Linked DNA regions of Homo sapiens: region 1 is linked to region 2. Evidence: promoter capture Hi-C in 16 types of primary human blood cells and fetal thymus (Javierre and others, 2016). All regions are on one chromosome and are shown on one strand. Each heading gives the region's core, a stretch centred on a gene start or on the middle of the fragment in contact. The rest is flanking DNA. Distances are from core to core; before and after follow the strand shown.

Region 1 (5,945 bases), core at 6-2,505, 250 kb after region 2:
CATCTCAGAGCTGGGAGGAGAGGATTAAAAAGTTCTGCAGAGACATCTCCATCTATAGTGTCTCCCTTGCCACACCCTAACGATTCCCTAGAAATCCCATACAAATACCCAACAGTAGTAGAGAACACAGATGTCCTCATCCCTCTGAACTCACTCTGGAGCTCTAAAAGGAATAACTTGGTGAGAAAGCACAGGACATCCCACCCAGCTTCCTGTTGGTACTGGTACCAGCACAGACTGAGGGACTACATACCAGACTCCATGGTACGGCATTAAACTATCTTCTCTTATTCTCCAGTTTAGTGCTCCCCAACAACCTTCTAGAGCTCCCTTTGGCCTGATCTCTGCAGATAACCGTACACTAATTTACACAGTCACTTGGCACTCCTCAGGGTTTCTGTTCATTTTTCTGCCTGCCCACATCTCCGTGATTGAGCAAGCGATTACAAATTCACCTCTGCCCTGAAAAGCCTGTGTCCTCACCACCATTCTGTTCGCCAGGCCTAGGGAGAGAGCACTGGCCCTACTCTGGGCAGGAAGTCAACAGGGGAGTGGAGAGTAATGCTAAGAAAACATCCCCCGTCTTTCAGGAGGGTGAACTGCTTTCCCCTGAAATCGCCACATCCTCAGTTTCTCAAAATAAGGGAAAGGAGTCCGCTTGAGCTACTGACAAGATGAAAGAACTGTTAAGGGGCCTAACGAGAGAAAGAGAAAAGGACTAGGAGGAGAAAAGTGTCTTTCGTGTTAAGGAAGACAGGACGAGGCACACAAGGACCGGCCACGAGCTTGCTAGGAGTTAATGTAAGCAATCAGTGAGTGCGTAGTTCGCTACCCAGCAAGAACCAAATGCTGCTGCTGCTGCTACTGCTGCTGAAGTCGAACTTTAAGAACTCAGTAACCTAAAGAGGAGTTTGAAGAGGTATCATGAAACGCCGTCCTGCGGAAACATCCACCATCCGGACCACTGAGGGACCCCAGGTGAGCTCCCCAGCTCCAGTCGCCGGGGTGGGGCAGGATGACCCAGAGATTTTTGGGGGGCTCGGGGGTCAGACTCTCCGCCCCCATTTAACCTTTGGAGAGCCTCTCCTGCCCGTCCCTAATATCTCAGGTTCACTTAACCCCCAGAATGGGTCCTCACACGTGCCCTCTTCGGGCCTTTCCCACTATGGGCTCTTACTTTCCAGAAGCTCCTCCAATTCCCTGTCCGCTTCGGCCCCGACACTACAGCCTTCCTCAGCGGCGGCCATCTTGCTACCTCCGACTTGCCGTAGGAGGCGGGACCTCCTCGGTGCCGACACGCCCTCCACCCCTTCGCTCCCGCCCTCTTCTGCCTCGGGTAACCAATGGTATTGTTGACCAGTGCGGAACCGCCATTTTTAAAGGGCCAGGAAGCTTTGAGTGTTTGTGTTTTGGGTATTTTTCCCTTTTCTCCTGTGAAACAGAATTAGGGATAAGATAGGGTTATTTTCTGTCTGGTTTTAGAGGCCCGGACTCCTTTCTTTCAACTTCCCAAATTACCTGGCGAAGCTCTTTCATTATTTTTTCCTGAGCTGTGAGTAGGCCAGATTGAGACAAACTGCCTACAAATAACCAGAATCTAAACATATATAATTGATATGACAATTATGGCACATAACATACTACTTTCTCTCACTTCATTTTTTTTTTTTTATTTTTTTTTGAGAAGGAATCTTGCTCTGTCGCCTACGCTGGAATGCAGTGGCGCCATCTCGGCTCACTGCAGCCTTGGCCTCCCGGGTTCAAGCGATTCTTCCTGCCTCAGCCTCCCGTGTAGCTGGGATGACAGGCGCGCGACACCACGTCCGACTAATTTTTGTAGAGACGGGGTTTTAACATGTTGGCCAGGCTGGTTGGCCAGGCTGGTCTCGAACTCCGGACCTCAGCTGATCCGCCCACCTCGGCCTCCCGAAGTGCTGGGATTACAGGCGTGAGCCACTGCGCCCGGCTTCACTTCATTGTTTCCCTCAAATATTATCTTTTCTGAAACGCTTTCCTTGGCCATTCCCGTTCCTTTTCTTCCTAACACTGAACAGTATCTGACATACTATCTACCGTACTTTTTTATTCTCCGCTCCCCACCCTGCAGAATTTAAACACCATGAACGCAAAGATTTTCGTCTGTTGTCTTCACTGCTGTAAAGCCCAACTCCCAGGCTAGGGTTTAAAACTTAGTAGGCATTCATTGGCCACTCTTTGCTCTCGCAGTCCCTAATCAGGCACATCTGTCTGCCCAATCTAGTGGCATCTCTCATTTCCTATTATCTATTAGAACTGTTTGATTAAAGGACACAGGGCCGGCCAGGAACTTAGAACTCCATGTTATTAAGAGAGCCTCTGGTACCTTGGACTGAGCAGGGCAATTCGAATGCAGTAGTAATAGACTTACTTTCCCTGAACAATCTCCTTTTCTCCACACAGAACCCAACCTCCAACTGAGTGAACACGGGGAATGCTCAGATAGAGGTAACTCTAGACGTCCCTTTCCTCCTTTGGAATTGTTCTATTCAGATGTCAGAATGTAGCAACTGTTTCACATACAAATCTGTTTTCGCACTTAGAGAGCACCTATTATTAAGGTCTTGTTCTGGGCACAGTGAGGACAGAGAGATAAATCAGGACCACCCCCTGCTGTAAGGTAGCTAAGTGGGGGTGAGCCGGAGGTATGATGAGATATACACACAGTATGATACAAGGTAAGAATTTTAAATGAAAAAAAATCCTGTGTTAAGTCACCTCATCACTTTCATTCTTAGCTTCCTAAACACACATTTGAGTACTGCATCAAGCACCAGATCAAGCACTTACTATGTCCTTCACAGATAGGGCACAGACTTGTAAAATCATATCTGCAAAACCTGTTTTCTTCCAACCACAAGTAGTGTGTTTTGGGATCAAAATATTATGAACTGTGAGTTAGAAAGCCTAAATTCCAGCCCCAATTCTGCCACTAATCACTTTTGAAGTCCTTTACAATTCTAAACTTCTGTAATCAAATCCTTTCCTGATAAACCTGTTTTCCAACACCTGCAACATAATTTATTCCAGACTTTCTCATTCAAACTGCTTACACGTGTATCTCCAATATGGCTATAGTTGTAACAAGCACGTCAAAAAAAGAAAACTTGTCTATCAACAGGCATCTCTATTGGTTTTATTTTTTGAGACAGAGTTTCACTGTTGCCCAGGCTGGAGTGCAGTGGTGCAATTTTGGCTCACTGCAGCCTCCACCTCCCGGGTTCAAGTGATTCTCCTGTCTCAGCCACCTGAGTAGCTGGGTCTGCAGGCTCGCGCCACCATGCCCAACTAATTTTTGTATTTTTAGTAGAGACAGTGTTTCACCATATTGGCCAGGCTGGTCTTTAACTCCTGACCTCAAGTGATATGCCCACCTTGGCCTCCCAAAGTACTGGGATTATAGATGTGAGCCACTACACTTGGTCAATTGGCTTTAAACTAATGTAATATAAGCATGTTAATTAAAAGATAATAGATGATAATTAAAATGGAGTCAAAAACAAGCATGATTCTTTCTTTGCATTATTTCTTAAACTTCTTTCTGCTTTTCTATTTTTACTCCTAATATTCCTAACATCTCATCTCAGTATTTACTGACCTACTGACTGCTCCTTCTGCCCTTCTAATGTATAGCGAATACTGTTGAATAACAGTATTTTATAACGCTTTCATATCACTCTGTTCCTTAAGGATTTAATGGTTCTCCACAGTTTATCGAACAAATTCTAATTCTTGCCTGGGAGTCACAATTATTTCACATCTTGTATTTTTAGTAGAGACAGGGTTTCACCATGTTAGCCAGGATGGTCTCGATCTCCTGACCTCGTGTTCCGCCTGCCTTGGCCTCCCAAAGTGCTGGGATTACAGGCGTGAGCCACCACGCCCGGCCTTTTTTTTTTTTTAAGACAAAGTCTTGCTCTTGTCCCCTAGGCTGGAGTGCAATGGTGTGATCTCAGTTCACTGCAACCTCCGCCTCCCGGGTTCAAGCAATTCTCCTGCCTCAGCCTCCTGAGTAGCTGGGATTACAGGTGCCTGCCACCCTACCCAGCTAATTTTTGTATTTTTCGTAGAAACAGGGTTTCACCGTGTTGGCCAGGCTGTTCTCGAACTCCTGACCTCAGGTGATCTGCCTGCCTTGGCCTCCCAAAGTGGTGGGATTACAGGCGTGAGCCACCACTCCCGGCTAATATGTACATTTTTTTTTTTTTTGAGACGAAGTCTCGCTCTTGTACCCCAGGGTGGAGTGCAATGGCACAATCTCATTAGTAGTATGTACTCTGTTGAGAAGGCAGCCTTAGTTTAGGGATGCTGTTTAAAAAAGCAACTCTTAAGATAAAGCTAAAAAATACAACGTATAGTATGAAGAGAAGTAAAAAACAAAGTGAAGCTCCCTAATATATTGATACGAGAAAATACCAAAAATGTTAAATGAAAAAACAAAGGTACAAAATTGTTAAATAGTGTGGTTTCATTTGTGTATAAAAGGAGATAGAGAATGGCATAGTGATATCAGCATGTGCATGTATATGTGTGTGTGTGTATATATATATATATATAAAATTTCTGGAAGGATGTAAGAAAGCTGGTAACAGTGGTTACCTGTTTAGGGGAAGGTGATAGGAACTGGGTGGCTGATGAAAGGGTGGAAAGATTTGTCACAGAATAGCTTTTTATATTTACTGATTTTTCAACTATATGCATTTATTATTTATTGAAAACATGAATTTAACACGCAAAAAAGTACTTATTTTAATCGAAGGCACAGTAATGTCACTCTACCCAATTATTCTTAGCATATGACAAGCAAAATATTGTATTGTTAATGTAATCATTGTATCATTGTAATATATATAAAGTACTATTCTTTTATCTGTATATTACATGTAAAATATCTAGAACAGTGACAGTCACATGGCAGGTGCTCAATAAATATTGCTATAATTAGCAAAAGATAAAAGGCTGCAATCAAAAACAGAATAAGGGAGCTACTTGCTTTCTATCATTTTCACAGCAGTTTAGGTCCTCATATATACCCTATGAAAAACATGTGCTTCTTTTTTTCTTTCTTTTTTTTTGAGATGGAGTCTCACTCTGTCGCCCAGGCTGGAGTGCGGTGGCGCGATCTCAGCTTACTGCAACCTCCGCCTCCCGGGTTCAAGCAATCCTCTGCCTCAGCCTCCAGAGTAGCTGGGATTACAGGCACCCACCACCATGCCCGGCTAGCTTTTTTTTTTTTTTTCCAATAGTGGATGTTTATTTTGTAATTAAAAATTATTACTGGAAGGAAGATATGTACTTTGGTGGGGTGCCTGCATGGGTGAACAAGAACATGAGAGTGTCCAAGAAATAAATGGCCAAGTCAAGAAGCTCTCATAGAGATTTATTTAGTGTGAGAAATATGAGAACAATAGTTGTAAAGAACAAATCAATAACCCGCAGTGTGCATTTTGGAAAACCAAATAACTTCTTCAAATTTCTGAGTACACAGAGGGTACCTGCCTTGAAATTTAAATGTCTAAGGAAAATGGGAGATGATTAAGAGTTGGTGTGGCCTAGTCACACCAAAATGTATTTATTACATCCTGCTCCTTTCTAGTTGACAGGAAAGAAAGCTGCTGTGGGGAAAGGAGGGATAAATACTGAAGGGATTTACTAAACAAATGTCCATCACAGAGTTTTCCTTTTTTTTTTTTTTGAGACAGAGTCTTGCTCTGTCACCCAGGCTGGAATGAAGTGGTATGATCTCAGTTGAATGCAACCTCCACCTCCTAGGTTCAAGCGATTCTCATGCCTCAGCCTCCTGAGCAGCTGGGACTATAGGCGCATGCTACCATGCCAGGCTAATTTTTATATTTTTATTAGAGACGGGGTGTTGCCATGTTGGCCAGGCAGGTCTCGAACTCCTGGCC
Region 2 (6,516 bases), core at 3,897-6,396:
AATAGTTGGAGCTGTTTGTTTTAGAGGCAAGGTGTTGCTCTGTCACCCAGGCTGGAGTGCAGTGGCACAATCATAGTTCACTATAACCTCCTCGAATTCCTGGGCTCAAGTGGTCCTCCCACTTCAGCTTCCCAAGTAGCACTTTTTTTTTTGTACAGATGGGGGTCTCACTATGTTGTCCAGGCTGGTCTCAAACTCCTGTCCTCAAGTGATCCTCCTGCCTCAGCTTCCCAAAGCATTGGGATTATAGGCATGAACCACCATGCCCAGCTCTTAAAATCGTTTATAATAAAACATGAGGGGTGGGGGGAACCAAGAGGTTGCATTTAGGGACAATCCTAGGTATAATTTTTCCATCTTTTTCCTTTTCCATTCATAGTACAGATGGTTAGGGGAGAGGGTGGTAATGCAGAAAACAACTGATATTAGAGAAGTAACAGTAAATTCAGCCACAAGTCAACTGAAAGACAAGTTCTACACAACTTCTGAAACATCTTGTAAGAGTCCAGATGGTGAGAAGTCAGTAACTAAAATCAGTGGTTTTAGGAATTCTTTTGCCAGGAAGGAACAAAGCACTGGGTGGGAGTATTAGCCTTTCCAATGGGCCTATCAAGAGAATTTATCCAGGAATATTTAGGAACCACATTCTAAAGACGTTACAAAGGCAATTACAGAAGAAAATGTCATGTAGTTCCCTCTGTTCAGAACACACACAATCTTGAGAATCATCCCTCTTTATCTAATAATTAATGCTTACCTGCAAATGAACATATCAATCTTAAGAGGTGGTATAAGAAAAAAAGAATTATATAGGAAATAAGCCAAAGTCTTATAAAATTTGAAGGTGTTATTAAAGGATTAAAAAGGAAACAAAAGGATTGTGATAAGAAGCAAAAAAAAAACATTTTTTTTACATAACCAGAAAACAAATTAAAAAATTAAAATCCCCCAAGAAACCAAATTAACTCATTTTTTTAGTTAACTTACTAAATGTTTTGGAACATACAAAGTGCAAAATATCTTTTGCATCCCTTTAAGAAACACCTGCCTTTCTTTGGTAAAGAATTTCTTGCAGGAAAGATTCCAAAGTTTGAAGTTCCCTCCAACGATCCCAGCAGAAATGTTTCTAACTTCTAAGAATGTCCTAAGAGAATGAGCTAAAACACAGAAAATGTTGAAAGTCTTATTTAGAATATTAAAAACTGGAAGCAATCTAAAGGTCTAACAGTGGAAGAATGATGTATTTATAATGTGAATATACATGTGATGTCCAACAATTTCAATTCTAAGTATGAAGAGTAAGCCACAATAAAGAATGTTAAAAAACAATAATTAGTAAGTAAATATAATTATAAAACCAAGTCAGAAATACAAAAAAAGGGACAACTATACTGGAATGATGAAATTCGATTTCTGTTTCCTGCCTCCTCCCTTGCTGGCTCTATAATTTTTTTTTTTAATTCTTAGAATAGGAAAAAAAGGTAAGAATGCTATGGCTGGAAGGCCACTAGTAAACAAGCACATATAAAGGGTCCTCAAGACAAGACCTAATATGGGTATGAAACTAAATGTTATAAGGAAGGTCATTGTCCTCAGCAACTGACTCTGCTATTTTTACCCCAAACAGGAGCCCATACAAAACCACCCCATTCTTTCCCTCTTTCTAATGAAAGGTCCCAAAAGGTATCCATCCAAGAAGTGCTGCCAATAATAACATTGTTAATTGTGACCAGCCTATAAACATCTTATTTGCAAAGGATTTTAGGCCTGAACTGACATGAAATATAATACTGTGGAACTTTTTTTGTCTTTTTGTGAGTGTTTTCTGACTGCAAAAGAACAGTTCATCAAATTACTTATCTTTTAAAAAACACAATCACAAAATCATATTCATATACTGCTACTGTAGTATTAGGGAATCCCAAGCCTAGACAGGCTGTTTAATTAAAAAAAAAAATGTAAGGATGCTTGTTTAAACAACTCAGAAAGCATTTTTCCCCCAGAAATATTACAGTGATAAGGGAAACGATCTGACCACCTAAGCCTCAGTTCCACAATCTCCCTCTAAATTCTCTGGTCTAGAAAACCCATGGCTCTCTGGGATGCTTCTTATGCTTTTCAGGAGTTTCCCTCACAGGTCTGCATTTCTATCATGGAATTTTTGATTTTTTTTTTTAAGCTAGGAAATGTCTTACTAACAAGTTGTTTTATCACCTAAAATCTACTATTATCCATTTTTACAACATAGATAACACTTGGTTGACTTAAATTCTAGAAGAAAAAAGTCTTGCTTTAGCAATCAAAAACTTAAAAACAAAGGGGTAAGAGGATACTGAAATGTACTAATAGTTTGTGTAGGACCACAAACATTAAAGGCAAGATGATAGTTTTAAAAATGTAATAACTCAAGTCTAAACATGAATGAATTTAAATTTAATCCTTTTTGTATGAAACCAAATAGCAGTCTAATACCACTGGGACTAAGTGCTATAAAAGTAAGTAATAAAACAAATACATGAAACATGATTACAATTTAAATTCTTTGGATTATCTTTTTTTTTTTTTTTTTTTGATATGGAGTCTTGCTCTGTCGCCCAGGCTGGAGCGCAGTGGTGCCATCTCGGCTCACTACAGGCTCCACCTCCGGAGTTCACGCCATTCTCCTGCCTCAGCCTCCCGAGGAGTAGCTGGGACTACAGGCACCCACCACGCCCGGCTAATTTTTTGTATTTTTAGTAGAGAGGGGTTTCACCGTGTTAGCCAGGATGGTCTCAATCTCCTGACCTCGTGATCTGCCCGCCTTGGCCTCCCAAAGTCTTTGGATTATCTTGTAAGACCCCACATTTAATATAGAAGTTTAAAACTCTCTAAAATAATACTACTAAGCATCTTAGTATTATTTAATACTTTTCTATCTAAAAAGTTGTCCTTTCCTTTTTTTTTTTTTTTTTTTTTTTGAGACAGGGTCTTGCTCTGGGCTCAAGCAATTCTCCCACCTCAGCCTCCCATGCAGCTATGACTACAGGGGTGCACCACAACACCTGGCTAATTTTTTTTTTTTTTTTTGAGACTAGGTCTCACCATCTTGCCCCAGGTGGGTCTAGAACTCCTGAACTCAAGCGACCCTCCCACCTCAGCCTCCCAAAGTGCTGAGACTACAGGCAAGGGCCACCATACACAGTTTAAGAATATTTTTTGGATTTTCACAGCTGTCAGGAAAGCTTTAGAAAGAAAAGATGGGTGTTAAAAGTTAAGACACAGCTTAAGACAGAAGCATTGTAAAACAGGAACAAATACTGGCTTAAACCTGATGTCTCTAACTATATTCCTCTATTTTAAGAATGTTTTAGTATCTGATAGTTTCATCAGCCTTTCCATTTTCCAATATGTGACCTTTATTCCCACCATGTCCCAAATAAACGAGTCCTAGGATTTCCTAGAAGGTGGACCTCAATTATTGTGTCCCTTTTATATATAAGGCAAACATTGCTTTTAAGTTCTGTTGGAACATGGGAACTTTCACTAGAATGCTTAGAATGTTCAGAAAAAATGTCCCAAAGCTCTCTTCTGGTCCATACAAGACAATCAGAATGTAACACAGTAGCAGAGGGTGTGGAACATACACTAGTCATATTTGATTCTCTCTGTCAGGGGTTCTTCTTTGTAATGGGAAATAATTTGAATCAGGATGGAACAATTGATAAGAAGAAAGAACAAACCAGCTAACCAAATAAACAGAAAGGTGTTCTTTCCTTGAAACTCTAGAACATAGGCAGGAGCCAGCCACATGGCCTGCCCTATAAACCATAACATTAGGAGAACTACAGCTCTTTTCCAAGGCATTCTGACTAGTGGCATCACAAGAGGCAGTAAGCAGAGGTACCAAAGAAAGTACTGGGAGGTGCAGACTTTGTTAAAAGTCACAAAAATGGACGTATGAAGAAAACAACAAAAAACGAGGTCTCTGTAATAGGCGAAAGACACAGCTGAAAGCAAGATGAGCTGTGGCAGGAATGCAGCAATTCCCAGGGAAAAACTCCACTTGCTCTCTGCAGTCAAATACAGCATGTAGAAGTACGGAGAAAAGTTGTGACGGATATCCCGCCTAGTCAGGTGATAAAAGTAGGTGTGTTCCAAAAATTCCCAGCCGTACTCATAGTAAAAACCAAAGCTCAGGGCAAAAAACGTGAGTCCAGCAACTGCTACAAACAGCAGCACAGCCCGATTACACAGCCTTTTCAGGAGCTCGTACAAACAAGCCTGGAAAGTGTACCGGAATTGACGGAGGCTTTTGTCATTGTCGCGATCTGGAAGCAGGTGGAGGGTTATGGGAAGGATGTAAGTCACTGGATATATCTTCATATGCACCGCGAAACCATAGAATACAGCTGCACACGCGACGAGTCTTTTCTTTATCAAGTAGAGGACCATCAGGACCAGGGAGGCGACAATAGAGTCCGCATTACCGCGGCTGGATACTGCCATAGGCAGGGGGTTAAGAAGCCAAAAGACACAGTAGCCACAAGCCTGGCGGCGCCCCAGCCCCTTCAGCAGCAGCAGGCGGTATAAGAGGAAAGCGGTGAGGAGGTCGCAGCTGATGAAGAGAAACTTTCCAAAGAGCTCGCTGAGGTAGATGTTGGGAGTGAGGAGCCAACCCAGCAGCGGGGTGTAACGGTACGTGGCTCTCAGGTAAGGCGAGCGCCCCTCCGTGACGAAGCGCGCGGCGTCGGTGAAGACCTGGTAGTCGATGTCCGTATACCTCACGTGCAGGGTCCGGTCCTGGAAGACGCCATAGAAAACCAGGGCGACTCTGGCTAGAAAGGCCACACCAAAGACGCCGGCTGGAGCCACCTTCAAGTTCAGGAGCCATTCGCCCCAGTGCTTGGTGGAGCCCATGATCTGACCGTGCGACAGCTGCTTAGCCCCAGCTCCAAACTGCCTTCGTACTTCTAACCTTCCCTTCGGTTCTTTGCAGCAGGTGGCCGCCGCATCTCCCACCCGCCAGGCTGCCAACCGAAACGACTGCAGACTATCACATCCGGCATGAAGCCCCGCCCCCGTACTGCTACCTGTCTCCAGCCCCGCGCGGTCTTCTCAGCCGCCCGAGCCAAAAACTTGCCTTCCTCTGGATGGACGGTCTCGCTTCCGCTTCTTCTTCCAGCGGAGGCGGGATTTCCGGTCCGTGGGAGGGGAGACGTCCGCTTGCCGGGAAATCCGGCACTGGCTTGAGGATTTTATGGAGTGGAGTGAGATTTCTTTGTAAGTGACAGCCCGCCGCCCCCCGCCCTCTTCCCGCGCCCCATTTCCAGTCCTCAGAGGAAAACCCTCCGACGAGCAGCGAGCTGCGGGCTGCGCGCTACATCCTTCAGTCCTGGGCTGGAGATCCGAGAGTGAAAAATGTAGGAGTGAAAGGAAGATAAGCCTTCTCATGCTTTACTCCACTAGCTCGCCGGTATTCACCGGGGATTTGTGGGCCCCGGACAGGACAGGATGAGTTGAAGGGGGCTGAGTGTGTATGTTCCATGCAATATTGGAGGCATACTTATATTTTTAAATTACTAGTTGGTAATCAGAGATTCAGATTTAAGTGGGCAGCTTGTATTTTATCCGGCAACCCTAGGTGAAGGTGATGGGAAAGAAGACAGGAAAGCGTCACAAAATTCCTTAACTTGTCAGCCCCTTATGCCTCAGTATCTCTGTATTTGCTATTTCTTCTGTCAAAGTTGCCATCCGCTCTCCAATCACTCTGGCAAATACCTACTCAACCCTTCAGGCATCAGTGCAAGTGTTAGCTCCCAGCTCCCACTCACTTCCTCATCACGCAGAATGAATGACTTAGATGCCAGTCCCCTCCCCTGTCCGAGGATAGGTAGACTGGGGCGGACGGGATCTAAGTTCCAGAAAATCACTCACACAGAAGACCCTGCCATGCTACTAAAAGTTCTCCCAGTGCTCCAGAACTCCCTGGTCATTCCTTTGTTACAGCATTTGTCACACTGCTTTGTAATAACTGTTTTTGTTTGTTTTGCTCTCCTAGTTTTCCATCAGGACACTTTCAATTCTTCGGTATCAGAGATTATCTTGTTCTTTTCTCTACCTCAACATCTAACACAGTACTAGTAGCCATTCAGTAAAGTTGAATTGATTTTAGAGGTTCCTCCTACCAGAATATTTCTAGAGTGGCATCTTTGGATTGCTCCCAACTCCCAGTTATTTTCCCTTTTAAATATCCTTTATGTATGTCAAGGTCCCCTGCTCCCCCCACCCCACTCCAACCCTACTTCCATGAATTTCTTGCCAAGGACTGTAACCCATTAGCTCTTCCCTTTCCGTGGTTACTTAGTGCACTTACATAGTCCGCATTGTAGAATTTGATACTTTATTTTAGATTGTATTCATAGCCCTCACAAGAGATTATAGGGTTCTTGGGGGTAGAAATTATATCTTATCCTTAATTTTTTTCAATTATGTGTAATTTATTGTAGTCTTAGGCACATGGTAAATGCTTAGTAAATA

What was found. Contacts are between HindIII fragments. The CHiCAGO score rates a contact against its expected background, and 5 or more counts as called.
Region 1: a contact is called between the fragment with the promoter of PEX19 here and the fragment with the promoter of PIGM in region 2, in 4 of 17 cell types (erythroblasts, fetal thymus, M0 macrophages and 1 more). The highest score is 7.1, in erythroblasts.

The regions. Positions count from the first base shown.
Region 1 is chr1:160,283,878-160,289,822 of GRCh38, forward strand. It overlaps PEX19 (peroxisomal biogenesis factor 19), which reads right to left and starts at 1,256. Exons shown (of 8, transcript NM_002857.4): 1 at 1,178-1,256. The coding sequence starts at 1,247. LOC107985219 (a long non-coding RNA gene) reads left to right here and starts at 488. Exons shown (of 3, transcript XR_001738265.2): 1 at 488-978; 2 at 2,440-2,484. It overlaps COPA (coat protein complex I subunit alpha), which reads right to left. Exons shown (of 33, transcript NM_004371.4): 33 at 4,717-5,945. The HindIII fragment of the contact is 4,290 bases long and covers 1-1,390 here.
Region 2 is chr1:160,026,844-160,033,359 of GRCh38, forward strand. PIGM (phosphatidylinositol glycan anchor biosynthesis class M) reads right to left here and starts at 5,147. Exons shown (of 1, transcript NM_145167.3): 1 at 1-5,147. The coding sequence starts at 4,896. The coding sequence ends at 3,625. The HindIII fragment of the contact is 5,226 bases long and covers 3,220-6,516 here.